Linked DNA regions of Homo sapiens: all the other regions are linked to region 1. Evidence: promoter capture Hi-C in 16 types of primary human blood cells and fetal thymus (Javierre and others, 2016). All regions are on one chromosome and are shown on one strand. Each heading gives the region's core, a stretch centred on a gene start or on the middle of the fragment in contact. The rest is flanking DNA. Distances are from core to core; before and after follow the strand shown. Region 1 holds the start of FZD4 (frizzled class receptor 4). Region 2 overlaps LOC107984361 (a long non-coding RNA gene). Region 3 overlaps LOC107984361 (a long non-coding RNA gene). Region 4 has its middle 300 kb from the start of TMEM135. Region 5 overlaps TMEM135 (transmembrane protein 135). Region 6 overlaps TMEM135 (transmembrane protein 135). Region 7 overlaps TMEM135 (transmembrane protein 135).

Region 1 (2,968 bases), core at 223-2,722:
GATTTCTGAAGCCTGGACAACTAACGTCTACTTTTTCCCACAACTTCTCTCTTTTCTAAATTTCTAAAAATCACCCAGCCTCACCAACCCAAACATAACCAATGTTAACACTTTAAAAATTTTCCTGTCAGTCTTTTATTATCCCAATAAATTTTTTATTTTGCAGGATTATAATCACCCTGTATATGCAAATTCTTATTACTGTGGAATAAACATTTTCTCTATCATTAGATATGCTTTACATTTTTTAATGACTGCAAAAAAATTTCTTCCAATATACCAACCACCTTCCTGCAGCTTCTTCTCACCCTCCAAGCATTAAACGTGCCTTCAACTGTGAGGATAAGAAAGAACTCAAGCCAACCCAACCACTCCTTCATGCATGACCTCTAAAACGCTGCGGGACGTCGTGAGAAGGGGCTATTCAGCAGAAAAAGGTGCAGTAGTGTTTCATTTAATAACACCCCAAAAATAGTGGGGAGAAGGAAGTTCGGTGAAGGATGGTCTCCTTATCACTCCCTCCAAGTCTTAGCTGCAGCTGGCTCCCTCCCACTCGCCCACCGAGCAGTGGCGGCCAGAATCCTTGGCAGAGATAACCCTCAGCTCCACTGGGGTTAGGGGTCTGGGCCAGACATGGGTGGGCAAGAGAGAAAAACGGAAGGGCGGGGTGTAAGAGTGGGTTCTTTCCCAGGCCAGATGACTTACACAACGTTTTGGCTTCCAGTCCCTGAGAAAGTGGGGGTGGGGATGGAAATCACTTTTCCAGGAGAGCTGTCTCCTTCGGGCTAGGATGATCAACTTGGCATGGGCTCTGCAAAGTTAGTTTGGAGCGTCCCTCCCCAAGGGGTCCCGCCAGGGGTGGGGGTGGGGGCGCCCACCTGCAGCTGGCTGGAGCAGCCGTACTGGATGAGCGGTGTGAAAGTTGTCAGCTGCAGCTCGGCGTCCGTCTGCAGCTCGTGCCCAACCAGGTTGGGCATCTTGGTCACGTTGTAGCCGAGGTTCTGGCACATGGAGATGCGGATGGGGTCGCAGCGCCGCTCTTCCTCGTCCCCGAAGCCCCGCGCCGGCCCCAGGAGCAGCAGCAACTGCAGGAGCAACCCCAGACTGAGACCGACGCCCCCGGGCGCCCCCGGGACGCTCGGCCCTGCGCCCCGCCAGGCCATGGCCAGCATCGGGGGTAGCAGCGGCAGCGGCTGGGGCTGCTCTGGCAGACACCCCCAGTTTGCACGGGGGCGCCGGCTGCCCGCGCTGCTCCCAGCTCCCGGGACGGGAGTGTGATGCGGCGACGAGGGGGCAGCGGCCGGCTCTCCAGCAGCTGCGCGCGACTGTGTGGGATTTTAGACGTCCCGGGCCGAGGCCGAGGGACAGGCTGCGAGGGTCATGGCTGCAGGCGGCGAGCCCACAAGCCGGCGCCGGCCGCGTCCGTTCGGCGTCTCCGCGAGGCCAGCCAGCAGCCAGCGCTGCGCAGCTCTCACCGCCGGAGCCCTGCGCGGCGCTGGAGGCTCGCGGCGCGGCGGCGGGGCGGGACGGACAGCGGGCCTCTCCAATGGCCGGGCGCGGTGGGCAGCTAGGGGCGAGGCGGCGGGGCGGGGCCGCTCTCCCGCAGGAGGAGTCAGGCCCCCGCCCTCCGGCCCCCTCCTCCGGCCGCCCCTCCCTCCCTCCCTCCCCTAGCGCCCCGCCCCGCCCGCCTCCCGGCTCTTGCTTTCCTCCCACCCGGATCTAGGCGCGCAGGGGCCAAGCAGGGACGCAGCCCAGTGGCTCCAGCCACGCCGTCCTGCCCCCTTCTGCAGGTGAGAAGTGCGCCCTGTTCCATCTGCCCCCTTTCCTTCCTGTCTCCTTTCAGCTGTAACCTAGGCCGGTGGCCACCTCCCCGTCAGGCAGAGAAACGTACACAAAGAATTGGGGATTTGGATTTACACCGATTGTGGCTTTCAGTCCCGGTTGTGTGACCTTGAGCAAATTGCTCAACCCCTCGGCGTCAGTCTCCTCTGTAAAGTCACTTGGGAGGATTAGAGATAAAGTGTAGAAGGCTTAGCATGGTGCCTGGTACTGCGTGAGTCCACAGCTATTTTCACTCCGGACCAGCGGCGATCGGGGCCCGGCCTCTCCCCGCCCCCAGACTCGCCCGACCTGCGCAGGGAGCCGCCCACCTCCAGCCGCCAGCGGGGAGGCGCCCCAGAGCTGCGGAGCTGCAGACCCGCCGACGGTCTCGCGCTCTGATTTCCTCACCGTATGAAATGAAATTCCACAGGGGGATTCGAAAGGAAATGAGACCGGGACTCTCCGTGCTTCTCGGCCCGCCGCCCTTCCTGTCTCGGGGACACGGTTTCTAAATAAGGTTGGGAGGGTGAGAGGGCGGGAGGGGAGAGGCTTGACCTGTGCACTGGGGACGAGGAAGGCGCACAACCACCGTGACTCCTCTCTCCCGGCCTCCCGGGCACCCCCTCCCCACCAGGCTGCACCCCTTTTTTTCTTTGCTTCTGCTTCGGCTCCTAGGGATCTGGGGATCATGTGACCCAGGTTTGAACCCAACTTTCCTGTCTCATTACCAGCCCCCCGCGGCTTTGTGCTGGTCCACCCTCTCTCTGCTTTCCAGTCGGCCAGTAAACTCCCAGCAGGTGGATTCCTCCACCGTTTACTTGTTGCTTGACTGTGTTGAAGCTATGGTGCCTCTCTGAGCCTCAAAGTGGCCGGCTGTAAAGTGGGGAAGTTCATATCCACCTCACACAGTTGTTCTAAGAGTTCAGTGAGATAATACCTGTAAATCATTTAGCAGTGTCTGACACATAATAAATGCTGAAGAACTTGGTGATTGGGGTGTGTGTGTGTGTGTGTGTGTGTGTGTGTGTGTGTGTATGTGTTTCCAAAACAGCTAGGGGAGATCAATTATGGGACAGCCTCCTGCTTTCCAGCCTGGTGCTAAAGACAGCTCCAGCAGCCCCGGAATGAGGATCTGGGTAAAAGGCTT
Region 2 (2,968 bases), core at 246-2,745, 480 kb after region 1:
GGCATTAACATCTCACTAGAAAATAAACATAGCTTGGTGTAGCGTATGTGGGAAGGAATGGTGTATGGTCGTAATTCCCACACTTGTTTGGACAGGAGACTCACCTGGGGAGCCCATGGAAAGTACAGATTCTAATTAAATCAGTATATTTGGGAATAGACTGAGAAACCTGTGTTTTGTTCTTGTTTTTCTTTTTTTTAGCAAGCTTTCTTGAAGAATTCTCAGACAGCCAACTGTATCAATTCCTTACTGGAACCACAGTTATAGAGCACGTGGATGTAGGAGTACAATGGAGAGTGCTCAGTGAGGGCCAAAACTACTGGGGAAGCTGGGGTTGGCTTCCTGGAGAAGGTGGGCCTTGAAGTGGGACAGGTAGGAAGGGTGACAGGAAGGGCGTGCACCCAAGACTCTCTTTTCACTTCCTTGACCTGGCTGACCCTAACTACACCTTCAGGGTGCAGCAACAATGCCACCTCCTCTGGTGAGGCTTTTTCAACCTCGTGAGTTAGGGCTGGGGGTATCTCTGGGATCCCACAACACCCTGTGCTTACTTATCATATCACTACTCATTATGCCAATTTATAATTATCTGCTCTTTTACATGCCTTTGCTCTAAGCTATAGGAGAGGAGGGAAGTGTTTTGCCAATCCTTGGCACAATGTCTGGCACACAGTAGGCATTCAAAAATGTTTGTTGAGATAATGAGAGATGAGGGCATTCCAGGCAGGAAACAGCACAAGCCGAGATTAGGAGGTGGGATCGACCTTGCTGTGTTTGAGGGCGTGGAAGCAGACTATTCAAGGATGGTCCAGTTGTAGAATAGAGAGGAATAAGGTTGGCTTTATTCCTTCACCAAACACAGCTTGAGCACCTCCAATGCACCAGGCATTTGCTGATAGGAAAAAAACCATCCTCTCTCTCTAGTGAAGAAATAGATTTGTAAACAAAAAATTATGGGCCAGCTCCTGTCAAGAAACAGCACGAGGGAAACAGTAGTGAACAGATCAGAGAGCCACAGCAACCCAGAGTGTGGATGTCGAACACTGCTGAGAAGTGTCAGGACAGGACACTTGAACCTGCTCCTGATGGAGGAGTAGGATTTCATCAGGCATCGAAAATGGGGAAAGGGCAGGCCTTACCATCTAAAGTCACACTTGCATTTTGACTCCTCTGCCTGTGATCAATCAACCTTCAATGACAGGGAACTTGATACCCCCAAGGCAGCAGCCCATTCTGTTTTGGATGATTCAAAATATTAGGGCTAAGGTTTGTCAGGCAGGCTGTGGTTGTGATATGGGGTATGTGTTGATGTATATGAGGCGGGTTCTGACCCAATACCCTCCACATTTGCATGTGAACTCTGTCAACTTTCACTAGATTCTTGACCTTAGCCTTTGTGAAGGGCTATCTATCTTTCTCACCACTGTATACTGAAGGCGGGCCCATTGCCTCACCAGAGCAGACACCCATAGAGATTTGGTGAATGTTCGAATAGATGCCAAGAAAGAAAGGCAGTGTTCCTGGATCTACTGCAACAGTAGCTGGATTGAAGCAGCCTTAAGTCATGAGCACTGAGGTTATGGTCCCACTTGTCCCCATTATCTATCTTAAAACTGCCCATTGCTTCATGCCTTGTTTTACCAGGATTGTGGGAGGATAGGTGCTGCAACACGGCAGAGATTGGCCAGAGCCTCCCCTGGGTCAGTGAGCATTTCATGGTAGCTCATTTGGCCAGAGCCTCCCCTGGGTCAGTGAGCGTTTCATGGTAGCTCATTCCAGGTCCTTATCTCTTTGTAGGTTGTGAAAGAACAATATCAAAGAAATAATCCTGTGTTCTATTTTTAACAGGTAGGGGATAGCTGAATAAGTAAATAGCTCTTGGAATTGAATGTATGTTCCAATGGGGAATTGTATACTATTGTGATTTCAAAAATAAAAACAGGAGATGGTGTTTCTGTCACCTGGGCTGGCAGTGGAAGGGGAAGTAAATTAGAAGACAGAAACCTGAGTTCTTTCAGGCTTATGCCTCACTTGATTAAAACACTTGGCCAAGTCAGGTCACCTCTCTGGAATTTAGATTACTCATTGAAAAGTGATGGAATTTATTTAGGTTCATAAAACTCTGAGTGCCTGGAAAGACATGGGGATTCACTGATGTGTTTTAAGAAGGGAAATGACATGGATCTTTCAAGCAACTGTGTGAGCTGTTCCAATGGAGTGTTTTTTTTTTTTTTTTTTTTTATGCTGAGACAAGTAATACACTTGATCAATTCCTCTGGAATTGTTAATTGCAGGGTTTTTTTTTTTTTGTCTTTTACTTACATTTTTATGTTCCTATTTTGTTTTAAAAAAATCTTCTTTGGCTTAATTAAAAAATCCACTTTAGTATTTTTATCTGCCTCATAGTCAAACTCACCAGGTATTCTACCAGTCTGTTTTTCTGTTTTTGTTTTTATTTTTCCTGGAAACCTTCTTTCTGGAATTGTCTTTCTGATACAGTCTGGACTGGTGGCTCTCCAGGACCCACTGCACAGCTGTCATCTTGGGACTTCCCTTTATCCCTTTCCTGTGTTAGCTCTCCTGTTTTCTAGACCCTATTTTAAAAAATTCTTGATGTATTTCCTCACTTTGGTGGAGAATAACATGTGGTGGTTCCCAGAAAAGGAATTTAAGGAAAGCCTTTTTTTTTTAAAAGTTGCCTATATGAAAATGCATTTTCCACATACTTACACTTAAATGACAACGTGTCTGGTTATGACTTTGGGTTAAAACCCTCAGAATTGGGAAAGCTTTGTTGCATTGATTTTTGGCTTCCAGTGTTGCCTTAAATAATACAATACTGATTCTTAGTCTCTAGTATATCACTACTGTTTTTCTTTTTTGTGGGTTTTAGAGTCTTCTCTTTATCCCCAAAGTCCTCAAATGTGACAATAATAAGCCTTTTTCCATTAATTTTTCCAAGAAATGA
Region 3 (2,968 bases), core at 249-2,748, 460 kb after region 1:
TAAATAAATAAATAAATACATAAACAAACACCACTCGATATTTCAACCAATTGAAGAAGCAGCAAAAAATCCAATTGCAATGTAGGAAAAGATACCTACCTGTGATGTGCATGGCTCTTCCCCAATAGAAATGCTAGGCAGAGAAAGGTGGGTATTGATTTCTGATAAACTGCAACTCTGGGCAGTTGTTCAGGTGAAGATATTTGGTCTCCCAAAGTGTCTCAGGCAGTGGCCATCCCTGGATGTAGACTTCTGTTTCAGAGGGCAGAACCTCATTCAAAGACCTGGTCTTATCTCCACTGTTATCCTGCAGGCCAGGTCACCACCATCTGCCTCCTGGGCCATGGAATTTTTCTTTTCATAGATCTCTCACTTCTGCTTGTGATCCTCCAACCCATCATTCACATGACAGACAGAATGATCTTTTCAAAAATAAATTAGATCACATCACATGCAGCCACACATCCCTTTTTTCTGCTACTCGATGACGCCAATCTGTTTCTCACACAAGAGCTTTTTGCATATTTTCTTCCTTCCCCTCTCTCTTCACTGAGCTAACTTCTATGCCTCCTTCAGGCCTCAACCCAGAGATTATTTCTATACAGAGGTCACCCTCTGCCTTTCCTACCTAAAATTTGTCTTTTCCATTATTTACCCTCATAGTACCCTATGCTTTTCCTTCATGGCATGCATTAGCATTTGTAATTATAGATTTATTTGTTTACTGTTTGTTCTTTTTCATACTGTAAGCTCCATGAGGGCAGGGGAATAGTCTGTTTGGTTAATCATTGTGTATCTAATGTCTAGTACCATGTCTACTACATAGTAGGTGCTCATTAAATATTTGTTGAATGAAAGAATATGCTGTGAGTTACTTTCCATGTAATAGCTCAAATGAGCAGGGGCTAAAGCTTAGAAACTTCAGATAAAAGAATTAGGAAAGGTCCTTAATACATGATTATTTTTATCTGCTGTGTTACATAAGGGTCAAGGACTGGGACTAAGACTTAAGTTCTCTCTACCTTGGTGTTTAGACATAAAGAAATTTGCTTTATAGACAAGAATGGTTTCCATAGAGGCCAAATCAGGAGAGACAATAGGGTTCCTGAGGAATAAATCGTCCTGTGATAGGATTTCTGAGCATTAGCATTATTGATATTTTGGTCTAGACAATTCTTTGATACAGGAGGATGTCTTGTGCATTATGAGTTTAGCAGTAACCCTGGCCTCTACCCACTAAATTCCGGTAGCACTGTCCTTAGTTGAGAGAACCAAAAAATGTCTCCAGACAAGGCCAAATGTACCCTGGAGAGCAAACGTTTCCCCAGTTGAGAACTACTGCCCTAAGAGAAGAAGGGACACAGCAGATTCCAGGACACTTCTCAATGCTGGAAAGAAGAGCTGGTTCTGGGTGGATGGAGGTAGCTAATGTCAGCATTTATCCTATTCCTACCACCCTGTGGGCTTGTTTGAATCCTAGAAGGTAGGCATTAGGTCACTAATGATTATGATGCTTTGGGTTCAAACAATTTTGCTTTGGGAACTCTCTCTGCCAGCTAATCATAACATTGCAGGAGCTATTTCCTCCAGGCATTAAGGGGCAGTGGTATTGTCTTATATCAGTCATGGCATTCTGGACACAGATTCAGTGCTGTCAAAGACCCTTTGTTGAACTGTCAGGATCTTGGGTTAGTGCTGGCTGCAGAACGGGGTGGTGATCTTCACTGATACTGAGATAAGAGTATAAAGTATTCCCAGGAATTCTCCATAAATATTTTGGAAGGAGGATTTTTATAAAATGGGTATACTACCCAAAGCAATCTACGAATTCAGTTCAATCCTTATCAATATATCAATGTCATTGTTCACGGAAAAAAAAAAAATTCTAAAATTTGTATGGAACCAAAAAAGAGCCTGAATATCCAAAGCAATCCTATGCAAAAAGAATAAAGCTGGGTCAGAGGACAAGATGGCTGAACAGATGCAGCCAGGTGAAACAGCTACCACCGAGGGACTAAGTTGACTGGTGTGCTTTTAACAGATCTTCAGAGGGAATGTGCCAGGAGTGAATGGAGGGAAGACACAGAAGCTTGGCTGAAGAGAGTCTCCCAAGACTGAGCCAGGAAGAAATTGAATCCCTGAACAGACCAATAACGAGCTCTGAAATTGAGTCAGTAATGAATAACCTACCAACCAAAACAAGCCCAGGACCAGATGGATTCACAGCTGAATTCTACCAGATATAAAAGGAAGAGCTAGTACCACTCCTGCTGAAACTGTTCCAAAAAATTGAGAAGGGTGTCACCCCTAACTCATTCTGTGAGGCCAGAATCATCAGATACCAAAACCTGGCAGAGATACAACAACAACAAAGAACTTCATGCCAACATCCTCAATGAACATAGATGCAAAAATTCTCAACAAAATACTAGCAGACCAAACCCAGCAGCATATTAAAAAGCTTATTTACCATGTTCAAGTAGGCTTTGGGATGCAAGGTTGGTTAACGTATGCAAATCAATAAATGTGATTCAACACATAAACAGAAGTAAAGACAAAAACCACATGATAATTTCAATAGATGCAGAAAAGTCTTTTGATAAAATTTATCACCACTTTATGTTAAAAACTCTCAATAAACTAGGTATTGAAGGAACATACCTAAAGTAATAAGAGCATCTATGACAAACCCACAGCCAATATTATACTGAATGGGAAAAAGGTGAAAGCATTCCCCTTGAAAACTGGCAAAAGACAAAGATGCCCTCTCCCACCACTCCTATTCAACTTAGTATTAAAAGTTTTGGCCAGGGCAATCAGGCAAGAGAAAGAAATAAAGTGCATCCAAATAGGAAGAGAGGAAATAAAAGTATTTCTATTTGCAGGCAACATAATTCTGTATCTAGAAAACCCTATAGTTTTGGCCTAAAAGCTCCTTCAGCTAATAAATAACTTCAGTAAAGTCTCA
Region 4 (2,968 bases), core at 331-2,830, 380 kb after region 1:
AATATTTGTTATCTTCATTTAGGTAAAGATTTTTTAGATATGACATCAAAAATACAGTCCATAAAAGAAAATTTTGATAAGTTGGAGTGCATCAAAACATAAAACTTTGGTTTCTTCCAAAGACAGGATTAACAGAATGAAAAGACAGCTTACATACTGGGAGAAAATATTTGCAAATCGCAGTCCAGTAAAGAGCTTTATCTGCAATATATAAAGAACTGTTGGAACTCAATAGGAAGATTGACTTCTGGCATAACAGCATGAGGAGTTCTGCTGACACATTCCCCGGTGAAACTAGTGAAAGTTATTATTTTTTCTGTCTCTGCTGCTTGAAGGAGAAAAACATTGTTAAAATCTCCAGCCATTTAGAGTCTCTGGAAATGGTCCTCAGGACAAAGAGCAAATGAAGAAACATCTCTTTTAGAAAATTTAGTAAGAAAGGTGAGATTCTGTGATATTTGAACCAAGACTTCTTCCACCCTCCCCACTCCCAGCTCAGCAAGGTAGTGACTCCACTCTAGATAACTGCAGCCAACAACACAAGGCTCTTTCCCTCCTTGGTTCCCAATCAAAGGCTTTTTTTTTTTTTTCCAGTAGAGATAGCACTTAACAACTCTCATCCTGCCCCTTCTTGCCTGTTGCTGAGGTTAAATCCCAGGTGAATGTGACTGAGAGGTGGAAGCTCCTTTCTTCTACCGAACTCTTACTCTTGGAATGGAGGTTCTACCTTAGGTGTAGCAAACAGAAAATATTGGGTCCTTATAACCCTTCTCCCATGCAGAGAATATTGAGCCCTTATTAAGGTGGTAGGTCCATGCCAGAAGAGGCAAGCTGAGAGGACCAGACTGCAGCTACTCCCCATTCCCACTGAATTCTCAGCTCCTAGTATGTGAGAATCACTTGGAGAGAAGCTTGCCATTGTCCTTACTCTCCAGCTCCAAAGTCAGGGAAAGATGGAAAGGAGCCCTACCAGTACCACTGTCATCCCCAGTGACTGTAGGCATACCCAAAGCTGTACCATCCTGAAGAGCAACATCAGAGGCTGGACACTGTAGGGGAGAAATAGACTTCACTAAAATAATTCAACCAGTCACTAGACCAGCAGACAAGCAACAACAAAGCTCAGAGTGGGGTATTCATTATCCAGTGTTCCTACAATATATTATCTAAAATATTCAGTTTCCAACAAAAAAATTTTTGAGTCATGCAAGGAAACAGGAAAGTGTGACCCATGCAATGAAAAAAAAAAAACCAAAAACGTAAAATAAAAATAACCAGGCAACAGAAACTGCCCATGAGAGTGGCCAGATGTTGGCTTTAATAGGAAATGATTTTAAAGTAACCATTATAAATATGTTCACAGAACTGAAGGACAGCTTGACTAAAAAAGGTAAAGGAAGGTATAGTGATAATGTTTTATCAAATAGAGAATATCAATAAAGATAGATTTCTTAATGGAAATTCTGGAGTTTAAAGTACAATAACTAAAATTTAAAAATGTATTAGAAGTGCTCAACAATAGATTTGAATTGGCAGCAGAAGGAATTTCTGAGCTTAAGGATTGGTCAATAGAGATTATGCGTTCCAAAGAACAGGAAAAAAGAATGAAGGAAAGTAAACAGAACCTCAGAGAAAGGCGAGATACCATTAAGTACACTGATACACATGTAATGTGAGTATCAGGATTATCAGGAGGAGGGGAGGGGAGGGAAGAAGAGGGAAAGAGTTAGGTAAAAAAATACTGGAAGAAATAATGGCTGAAAACTTCCCAAATTTATTGACAAACAATAACCTACACATCCAGGAAACTCAATGATCTCCGAATTAGGTAAACACAAAGAGAGCCATAGATAAACATATTATAGGAAAAATGTGGAAAAAGACAAAGAGATAATTTGAAAGAAGAGAAAAATAATCTATCACTTTCAAAGGAACCTCCAAGATTAACAGCTGACTTCCTAGCAGAAACAATAAAGGCCAGAAGGCAATGGGATAACATAGTCAGTGTGCTCAAAACTCAATAATACGAAAAACAGTCTGATTTTTTTTAAATGGGCAAAAGATTTGAACACATTTTACATAAGAAGATACGTGGATGGCAGATAAGTGCATTAAAAGGTGCTCCACATCATTGCAAATTAAAACCAGTTGCAGATTAAATGTCAATTAGAACCACAATGTGACACCACTATACACTCACTGAAATGACTAACTACAAAAACTATACTAACTGCTAGCAAGGATGTGGAGAAGCTTGAACTGTCATATATTGCTAATGGGAATGTGAATTAGAGCAACCTAATTGAAACAATTTGTTCATCTCTGAAAAGCTAAACATACAGTAGCATATGACTCAGGCATTTCAATCACAGCCATAGCTACCCAAGAGAAATGAAAGTCTTATATATGAATGTTCACAGCAGCTTTATTTGTAATAGCCAAAAAGTTGAAAGAACCTAAAAGTCTTTCGGTAGGTGAATGGATAAACAAATTTTGTATATCCATATAATAAAATACTTTGCAGAAATGAGAAGAATGAGCCAGTGACATGTGCAACATGCTAATAGTTTTTAAAACCTTTTATTGTGAAATATACATATATCGTACACCAAAATCAACAAGTAGAATGTTGCCAGCACCCTCAGAAGCCTATTTTGTACCCTCTTGTAATCGTAATGCTTACCTCTCCCAGAGATAGCCACTGTTCTTTTTATAATAATCATGTCTACCTTAATGGGCATTCCCAAGCACTAGAGATTATTACATTGACAAGTTCTTGAACCTTATGTAAATGGAATTATACACAGTATATCAGGGTTTTTTTGTTTTTGTTTTTTATTTGTTTTTTTAATTTTTGAGACAGAGTCTTGATCTGTCGCCCAGGCTGGAGTGCAGTGGTGCAATCTCAGCTCACTGCAACCTCTGTCTCTCGAATTCAAGCAATTCTCATGCCTCAGCCTCCTGATTA
Region 5 (2,968 bases), core at 247-2,746, 360 kb after region 1:
CTGTTTATTTCTAACTCTGAATATCAATTTTTTAAATTTAAAAATATGCAATAATATCTCACCCCATTTTAATGTCATCTGGTTTATTACTGTCCTTGATTGTGTTGTAACAAGAGATAGTGCTGATTCTATGTAAGTGAATTAACATTTCTGATGACATAATAACAAATAAATACTCTGCGATCTTATCAGTTATTTCTTATTTCTTGTTTCAGGATTTTTGGCAGGTATATCAATGATGTTTTATAAAAGCACAACAATTTCCATGTATTTAGCGTCCAAATTGGTAGAGGTAAGCGAAATTTTTGTGCAAGAATAGTTCCAAAGAACATAAAGCTTTTAGCTGCTGACTGTTTTAGCAGCAAATGTATATCCCAATGGCAAACATAAATTTTAATCCTCTAAAAGTATTTGCAAAGTTGATTCCCCTGTGTTTTTCTTTGTGTGTGTGTTATTTTCAAATATACATTAAGTATAGAAAGAGTAGTGTAATTAACCCTCATGCACCCATCATGCAGCTTCAACAGTTATCAGTATTTGGCCAGTCTCCTTTCATCTATACTCCTCAACCCCACAGGTATCGAGTTATTTTAAAGCCAATCCCAGACACTATATAATTTCATCCTTAAAAAAATTTCAGCATAAAGACTCCTTAAAGAATAAAGGCTAAAGGCTTTTTCAAAACAAACAAATCAACAATACCACAGTATCATTATCATACATTAAAACCCTCCCAGTAATTCCATACTAATATATCCAATTAGAGTTTATGTCTTCACTGATTATCTTATAAATATGTTTTTGCAATCATTTTATTTTAATCAAGTTCCAAACAAAGTTTCTTGTAGTTTATAATAGTTACCCCCCTACTACTGCTGCTACTGCTTTTCTTCCTCCTCCTCCTCCTCCTCCTCTTCCTTCTCCTCCTCCTCCTTCTTCCTTGACATTTATTTGTTGAAGATGTAGGTCATTAGTTCATGGAATTTCCCAAATTCTGGATTTTGCTGATTGCACCCTCACTGTTGTTGTTTAACATGTTTCTTTAACTCATAAATTTTTTTAGTTGTTAACTAGATCTTGAGACCTAAGCAAATTCAGGTTTAAATTTTTGTAGGAGGTAACAGCCATACTTCACATTTACTGTGTATGTGAACTTCCAATTGCATCATCACATGACGAGGCACAAAAATGTCTGGTTCTCTCTCTTTTTGTGATGCTAAGATTGATCAGTGGGCTTAGGTGTTGATAGAGCCAACATAAGGTTCCCCAGTAGCCCTATAGCTATTGGTTTTCGCAGCTGTTAATAATTATCACTGGGATTCATTATTTCATTAAGAGTTGCAAAATGATGAAAAATACTATTACTCTTTATTCTGTGTTTATTAGCTGAAATTGTTCTAAATGCATTTTTCCTTTTCAACTATTTGGTTACTCTGAAATACGTTGTTCTGGAAAGTCAAAATAAAATGCTTGATTAGTTCATTTTTAATTACCAGTGTTTAGAATGAGTTAGTACCTTAGCATCCTGCAAAGTTGACCCATGAGTCTTTATTTTTAAAGTATCATTATGAAGATTTGGAGTTTAACATATATGATTTATTTTCATTATGCTCAAATTGTTCCCATCTTTGGCCATGAGAGCTTCCTTAAGTTGACTCCTCCTTGTTGTAACATAACACCATTATCTTTGATAGCTTTCTTGCTGTAAGACAATATATTCCGGGCTCATCTGGGACATTTTCTGCCTCAGATGTAGAATCAGTCTTCTCTGTAATGGCTCCTAGTTTGTTTTAGTGGGAAATGGTATTTAAAGATTTCAATCCAGGTGCTAGAGGTTATTTGCTCCCAGGCTAGTTACTGATTCTTGGCTTTCGCAGTGAATGGAGCTAGAGAATCTCCCTCCCCTTGCTTTTTAGAAACAGAAAATACATTTGGAACATAGTGATATTTCTAATTCAAAGTTAAGAGTGTAGATTTTATTTAACTTAATTACTTGCTTTACCCAAATATATGTGTGTGTGTGTGTGTGTGAGAGAGAGAGAGAGAGAGACAGAGAAAGAGAGAGAGATTGAGAGAATATATACATCATGAAATCAGGAGGACAGGCAGGAGCCAGACCATCATGTAGGATTTTAAAAGCTGGGGTAAAGAATTTGTTTTTTTCTCAGTGCACTGGAAACCACTGAAGAGTTTTAAGCATGGAAATGACAGTATTTAATTCACATTTTAAGAAGAACATTTTGGCCACTATTTTAGAGGGAGGCAGGATCAAAGCTGAGAGAACAGTTAGTCTGTGTCAGGAAATGGTGGCTTGCACCAGGATGATAGCAGTAGAGATGGAGAGAACTATACAGATTTGGTGTATGTTTAAGAGTAGAATTGGCAAGACTTGCTAATGGAGAGGAAAAGGGAACTGAGAGAAAGAAAATAATCCTTAGGTGGCAAAAATATATTCTTTAACACAAGAGGAAACCAATATTGAGATCTAGTTTATTAAAGGTATTTTACAGCTAAGTGGCCAGAGTTTTTTAAGGCAAGGAATGGTATCTCTCTGTTTCTTGTGTCATCAGGCCATATCTGATCCTGGCAAAAGAAACTGGCATATAAACTATGGTGATGCAGACTTTTTTTTTTTTTTAAATAGGATATTAGAAATTTAAGCTTGCTATGTCCTTTTGTGGAATTCATTGCTCTGGTAATAGACAATCATTTTTCTGTGATTGAAGTTAATTTTATATTAAAATGTTCTATTACTGTACAGTGAAAATGATATAAAAATCAACTGTATAGACCATTGTTTTCTAGGAACCTCTGAGTCAAATGCATGTATTTATTTAGTATATATTATGTTCTCATTACTGTGCTAGGTACTGGAAAGAATATAGAAGTATAGGATATGGTTTCTGTCCTTCATTAACTTAGAATCTGGTTTATTAAATGAATTTTATAATAAATAATTAGAAACGCA
Region 6 (2,968 bases), core at 320-2,819, 300 kb after region 1:
CTGTAGAGTATTTTAGAGGACAATGGCCTCAAATTAAGATTATATTAAAGTGATTTTTTGGGGGCAAAAACATGTCTTTTGCTCATTGTGGAAAAATGAGCAAATATGATTGAACAAAATAATAATAATTATCACCCATAATCTCTTCTTTCAAAGACAAGTAACTACCAGCTTTGTTTGTATACTTTTAGTCTGTTGGCTATGCCTCTATCTGTCTGTTGGTCCTGCTTGCCCTCACTCTTCCTCTTTTCCTCCCTCCTTTGCCCCTTTCTTTCCTCCTGCCTTCACTTCTTTCCTCTCTCCTTCCACACATTTGTGTGTGTGTATGTGTATGTGTATATGTGTATATATGTCTTTCAGCTTCTCAAATGAGATTATATTATGTAGGCTATATGATTATATGCCTTTGTATTTCCATATAAACCCTAGAAATGGATTCTTATACTAATCTTCAGTTCTTCACTAAGAAACTGGTGATAACTCTTAGCAATGTTGAGTGTGACTAAACATCCAAACATTATATCCTTTCGAGTTCTGGAATCCTCTTTTGCATGCTGTCTGCTTCTTGTTTAAGGAGCATTATTACTAATCACAGAAAGTTCTTAGATGAGACTTTACTGATACAGATGCTCAAATTTGAAGCAGTTAAATTTAACTGTTTGCTTTACTGCTTGTGAGGTGCTATAACTCATTGGGCTATGCTATAACTCACTGTGTCTTTCTCAAGCCTGATTCTTTCTTTCTGTTATTTTCTTTTGTTTAAGTTCTGTGTCGGAGGTAATCAAAAGACACTATAGTGTAGTTGAGAGGGAACTCTGGGGTTCAGCTGTGTTGGTTCAAATCCTTCTCCATCTTACTTGTTTTGTGACTTTGGGTAAGTTATGTAGCCTCTTTGTGCCTCACATTTCTCGTCTTCAGTGGGGATAATAATAGTACTTACCTCATGGGGTTATTGTATTGAATATCTACTGCATAGTAAGCACTCAATAAATGTTAGTTGTTTTTATTATTTAAATCTAAGCTGTAAACGTCATATTTATATGATTCTATTTATCAAAAATGTCCAGAATAGAAAAATCTGTAGAGATAAAAATTAGATTGGTGGCCTAGGGGAGTTGGGAGTGTAGGGAATGACTATTAATGGGTAAGGGTTTTTTTTAGGGTTGATGAAAATGTTCTAAAAGTAATTGTGGTGATGGCTGCACAAGTCTGAATATACCAGAAACCACTGACTGATACAGTTTAGATAGTGAATTGTATAATATTTCAATGGTATCTCAATAAAACTGTGAATGTATTTTTAAATATAAATCTGGCACATTCTTGATCAAAATTAAGTCACAGATTGCCAGATACAAACTGACCACAAGCACGTACTTCCTATACCATATGTACGTCTAAGTCCCTTTCTAAGAATACATTCCAATTTAGTATGAATAGAAATTACATTTATAGTCTTTAGAAATATAATCAGTTAATAACTTGATTATATTTTCTGCATATATTATATATATTTGATTATATATTGATATTGATTATATTTTACACAATAATTATTTTACTGTATTCTGTGTTTATTTTGGGGAAAAGCCTTTTTTTTTTTCAGTTGGAATCACTTTTAATATTTAAATACAAAAAATGAGCACTGGCTTCTCTTTTTTTAAACACACACACAAATCTAACAGCCAAAATGTGCAGAGGAAATGAGCTCCTGCTCTGTCTTCCCCAGTCCCCATCCTGTGGCTAAAGCTGCAGCCAGCCTCTTTCCTCTTATACATAGGGATTCATAGTGGCCACATTACACCACAGTTGTAATGCATTTTGTCTGTTTTACATTGTGTGCATGTCCCTCCCCAACAGCTCCATTCTTTAAGGAAAAAAAAGAAAGCAGTCATTAATGGTCAGGGGCACATCCCTCCCACTGGTGTCAGTTCCTACCCCACAGGAGAAAGTGAGATCTTCCAGTTAGGAGCAATTTTGTGAAAAGAGTGTGTGGCCAGAGCTGGAATAACCATTTGCATGGCTGCACTGTGGTATCAGAGTGAAGACTGAAGTAAGTCAGGATAGTGTGGAGGGCACAGTTGCAATTAAGTCTCTTCATGAGACAATGTGGGGAGATTTCTTCCCACCAGGTTTAGATGGATCAATGTGCCAAAGTTAAAAAAAAATCCAAATAATCAGCAGTTCAAACACAATTGAATTTCTGACTTCTCCCACGGAGACAGCTCATATACGGCAGTAACAATCTAGATCTTTCCAGGAAGTGAAGGAAGAGCCCCTTGCATTCTTCCTGAGAGCCCTGTGTTAGGCCCTAGAAGTATCTGCTGCTGCTGCAGTTGCTGCTGTTGCTCGGTTTGCATCTTCTCAGTCTCAAAGACAACGGGAAGAACCAGGATCATAAAGGAAGTGGTCCCAATCCACACGGCTGCCCTGGGAAACCTGTACATTTTGTGAGCCACAAAGAGGGAGAGAAAGAAGAGGTTCTGGCCGCAGACCGGACCCTCTTCGGAAACATCTCCATCAGGCCCCATAGTCTCTCCGACCAGGTCTCATCTAGCTTCTCCTCGTCGTCCTCCTCCAACTCCTCCTTAGTCTTCTCCACGTCGCCTTTTGGGAGCAATTCCTCCGGGGATAGGGGTTCCCCTGCGACAGCGGCCATGGCTGTAGGGGACACCAGAAGTGGAAAAAAAGGATAGGGAAAAGATATTTCCAAACCACTGTACTTGCCATGGATAATTTTTGAAATGAATGACAACACCCAGAAGGAAATTTTATGTGTGTGTGTATATGTGTATGTGTGTACGCGTGTAGAGCGGGAATACACACACACACTACATATATATATCATGTTACATTTTTTTCCTCTTCCATGGGTCTATTTCAGACATTTTTAAGAATTAGCATAGATAGCACAAATGGAAATTTTTTGGCCTTATTCCAGTCTACATCCTTAAAACTTCAAATAAAA
Region 7 (2,968 bases), core at 168-2,667, 280 kb after region 1:
GAACAGTGCCTGGCACGTGGTAGGAATTCAGTAAATATTTGTTTAATGAATCAGTCAATTGCACTGTAATATCCTTTTGATTTATTCTCCTAATTATTGGTGATATTAGAGATTTCAAAAGGGCTGCCTGATTAAAAATAATTTCTTTCCAGATTTATGTCTCTGGGTTAGGTTTTTCTATCTAGATCACTTATGTCAGTTACAAAACAAGATAAAAACAATCTGCTGATGCCTCCACTTTTATATGCATCATCTCACTAATTCTTCTAAATAATTCGAAGTATGATATTATTCTCAGTTTATAGATAAGGGGTCTAAGGTTTAGGGAAATTATATAAAGTATCTAGAGTTACCCAGAACTAAGATTCAAACCCAGATCTATCTTACTCTAAAGCTTGAGTTCTTAAACATTGTACTTTTTCTCAGTTTCAAGTGTATTATTTGTAAAGATAATTATCAGTTTAGTACGAACACAGATAGGTTAGCATATTAGGATAGAACCTGGCAACATTTTGAGGGAAGGCAGACTTTGGATATTTAGAGAAGATGAAGAGTGTGTGAAAGATTTGTGGGATACTTCTAGAGAGGTTTTTAGTGTGATCTGCAAGGGGGACACTGATTAGTGCAGGAAAAGTCTGAAGCATTGAACATCTGGGAAGGATGACATTGTCCAACGGGGATTGAATGATAGAGAAATTTAAAAAAATTGAGTGTCATGACTGGGTTTTGTTAGGCAAATTATAACCAGTAAATAAACCCACTTAGACTTCAATTTATAATCAATTAGAATAACTGAAAGTTATTTTACATGCTTTAAGTTATGTTTCTAAAAACAGTGAAATGGTAAAATGAACCTTATGCATCATGGATAGGGTGTTTTAAGTCAGTGGAGAAGAGAGATGGAGAGAGGAAGGAAGGAGGGAAAGAGGGAGGGGAGGAGAGTATGTGTGTTTAGCACAGAAAGATTTTATAGATATAAAATGTTACATAAATATATATAATATTTACTTCATATTAATTGATAACAATCCTCTTTTTCATTGGTATATTTATATATTTCTAAGTCATTCAGGCTGTATGTATAATGCTTATCTTAGGCTAAGACAGCAAACTTGTCAAGCTTGATTTGTAATGGCAAAACTACCATGCTTTCATCAGGTTGACTAGAAATTATTTGTGTTAGAAATAGCAAAACATTTTTTGCAGTGTTTTCATTTCTGTTCTTGTGGTCACCCTTTCACAATAGAAAGAAGGTTCATTTCTTATTTGTCTGTGATGTGAGGCCATTGACGATTCTTAGGCTTAATTTGTACTGTTGTTTTTTAACATAAGAATGCATTCTACAATTTTAATTTTTGTGATTTAAAACAACTTTTCTAATCTGTTTTTTTGGTATAACTAAGACGTTAGTCAGGACTGGAGTTCTGGGTTCCTTCAACATACCATCTTAATATGTTGTGTTTACTGTGATGTTTTTGAGATCATCATTTCAGATGTTCTTGTGCCTGCTTCTAGAGGAATTACTTTTATAGCTAGTCTGTATTCCACAAAGGAATATTGTATTTTTATGAGCTTTTCTTATTGATTAGAATTGGTTGACAACTGGACTATATTTTACATTAGAAGATCTGGTCATCTTCATATCATAGTTAATAACCTTTCTGATTTATTCACTGAACTGATTATACAAAAGCTGTTGTCCTTGTTTTTAAGTTAAGCTTGCATGTTTAGGCTTTCTAACAGACAGTTAAAAATTAGCTGTTCCCTTTTTTGTGAACCCTGTTACCCTTCTATCCCGTCTATATATGTATGTATTATATATAATTATATACATGATGATAGTTACATATAAGTATTGCAATTTATTCTCCTAATATGGGCTATATTAGGGGTGTCCAATCTTTTAGCTTTTCTGGGCCACATTGGAAGAAGAAAAATTGTCTTGGGCCATACTTGAAATACACTAACACTAATGATAGTTGATGAACTAAAAAAAAATTGCAAAAAAATCACAATGTTTAAAGAAAGTTTACAAATTTTGTTGGACCACATTCAAAGCTGTCTTGGGGCTCATGCAGCCTGCAGGCTGCAGGTTGAACAAGCTTCGTTTATATGAAAGGTTGAGGAATATGAAATGTGTGTGACTGGTTTGTATATCCTTTTATTGTTTCAGGCACAAGATTTAATAGTATTTTGCTTTTATGAGTCACTCAAATGGTGATGTCAGTGTTCTTTTGCAAGTAATATATTTTCTCTTTGTTACAGGTCCTTTTGTTTTGCATCACAGCTGCCATGTACATGTTCTTTTTCAGGTATGTTCTGTTATACTTATTTACTTTAATACCCCAAACAGTATCTCTTTGTAATTTCATCAACCACGAAACTAAAGTATTCTCCAAATAATTATCCCTTACAAGCAGCATACTCCCCCCGCACCCCCGCCCAGAGTGGACAGAGGTAAATCATTGCTCCTTTGTGAGTTAAGAAAAGAGAAAGAGAGGGAAGGAAGACTTATTCTCCCCACCCCCCATTCTATTTATAAGTTCATCCTAGAAAGTTGAATATGTCAATTAATAGGACTCAAATCCTGATAAGTGAATTTTTATCTTTTATGGACCTGATTGTATGTAAATACCTAAGTGTTTTTCACTCTGCTTGTAAAACAATCAACATTTTACATTTGGATAAGAAAAAATGACAGTAGATCTCTATCTAAGCCTTCTGCAAGGATAACCTAGCACATTAATGATAGTCTGTAAAATATTGTTTGTTATAATGTCAAAGTTGTACTTTTCATTGACACTGGTCTCAGGTTTGTTGGGGGCTAAGGGGAAGAGTGTTAGGATGGCCCAAGATTTAAATGCCAGTAAGAGGGATTTCTGCCATCTTCGTATAATCCCAGCAGTGTGCGAATGATTTTTGATTAGGGAGAGTCCCCTCCTTTATAATCTTTATTTCTTTATTTTTA

The links. The method cuts DNA at HindIII sites, captures the fragments that hold promoters and counts their contacts. A CHiCAGO score of 5 or more calls a contact.
Region 2: a contact is called between a fragment that was not itself captured here and the fragment with the promoter of FZD4 in region 1, in 1 of 17 cell types (total CD4 T cells). The highest score is 5.2, in total CD4 T cells.
Region 3: a contact is called between a fragment that was not itself captured here and the fragment with the promoter of FZD4 in region 1, in 1 of 17 cell types (total CD4 T cells). The highest score is 5.1, in total CD4 T cells.
Region 4: a contact is called between a fragment that was not itself captured here and the fragment with the promoter of FZD4 in region 1, in 2 of 17 cell types (naive CD4 T cells and non-activated CD4 T cells). The highest score is 5.9, in naive CD4 T cells.
Region 5: a contact is called between a fragment that was not itself captured here and the fragment with the promoter of FZD4 in region 1, in 9 of 17 cell types (naive CD4 T cells, naive CD8 T cells, total CD8 T cells and 6 more). The highest score is 7.3, in naive CD4 T cells.
Region 6: a fragment that was not itself captured here is called in contact with the fragment with the promoter of FZD4 in region 1 in 16 of 17 cell types (erythroblasts, total CD8 T cells, endothelial precursors and 13 more); the score reaches 9.0 in erythroblasts.
Region 7: a contact is called between a fragment that was not itself captured here and the fragment with the promoter of FZD4 in region 1, in 9 of 17 cell types (endothelial precursors, erythroblasts, megakaryocytes and 6 more). The highest score is 7.9, in endothelial precursors.

Annotation. Positions count from the first base shown.
Region 1 is chr11:86,953,923-86,956,890 of GRCh38, forward strand. It overlaps FZD4 (frizzled class receptor 4), which reads right to left and starts at 1,473. Exons shown (of 2, transcript NM_012193.4): 1 at 879-1,473. The coding sequence starts at 1,163. It overlaps FZD4-DT (FZD4 divergent transcript), which reads left to right and starts at 1,699. Exons shown (of 3, transcript NR_038905.1): 1 at 1,699-1,790. RefSeq lists silencers at 1,151-1,200, 1,331-1,700, 2,051-2,200. The HindIII fragment of the contact is 4,830 bases long and covers 1-2,968 here.
Region 2 is chr11:87,435,944-87,438,911 of GRCh38, forward strand. The region is part of intron 2 of LOC107984361 (a long non-coding RNA gene); the gene reads left to right. Among named protein-coding and RNA genes, the nearest start is that of LINC02711, 280 kb to the right of the region's middle. The HindIII fragment of the contact is 2,584 bases long and covers 204-2,787 here.
Region 3 is chr11:87,410,631-87,413,598 of GRCh38, forward strand. All of the region lies in intron 2 of LOC107984361 (a long non-coding RNA gene), which reads left to right. Among named protein-coding and RNA genes, the nearest start is that of LINC02711, 310 kb to the right of the region's middle. The HindIII fragment of the contact is 1,178 bases long and covers 910-2,087 here.
Region 4 is chr11:87,336,282-87,339,249 of GRCh38, forward strand. No RefSeq gene overlaps it. Among named protein-coding and RNA genes, the nearest start is that of TMEM135, 300 kb to the left of the region's middle. The HindIII fragment of the contact is 1,342 bases long and covers 910-2,251 here.
Region 5 is chr11:87,314,256-87,317,223 of GRCh38, forward strand. TMEM135 (transmembrane protein 135) reads left to right here. Exons shown (of 15, transcript NM_022918.4): 12 at 216-292. Among named protein-coding and RNA genes, the nearest start is that of TMEM135, 280 kb to the left of the region's middle. The HindIII fragment of the contact is 2,325 bases long and covers 335-2,659 here.
Region 6 is chr11:87,256,603-87,259,570 of GRCh38, forward strand. All of the region lies in intron 6 of TMEM135 (transmembrane protein 135), which reads left to right. It also overlaps the pseudogene LOC101929104. Among named protein-coding and RNA genes, the nearest start is that of TMEM135, 220 kb to the left of the region's middle. The HindIII fragment of the contact is 3,243 bases long and covers 1-2,968 here.
Region 7 is chr11:87,234,373-87,237,340 of GRCh38, forward strand. TMEM135 (transmembrane protein 135) reads left to right here. Exons shown (of 15, transcript NM_022918.4): 6 at 2,266-2,312. Among named protein-coding and RNA genes, the nearest start is that of TMEM135, 200 kb to the left of the region's middle. The HindIII fragment of the contact is 598 bases long and covers 1,119-1,716 here.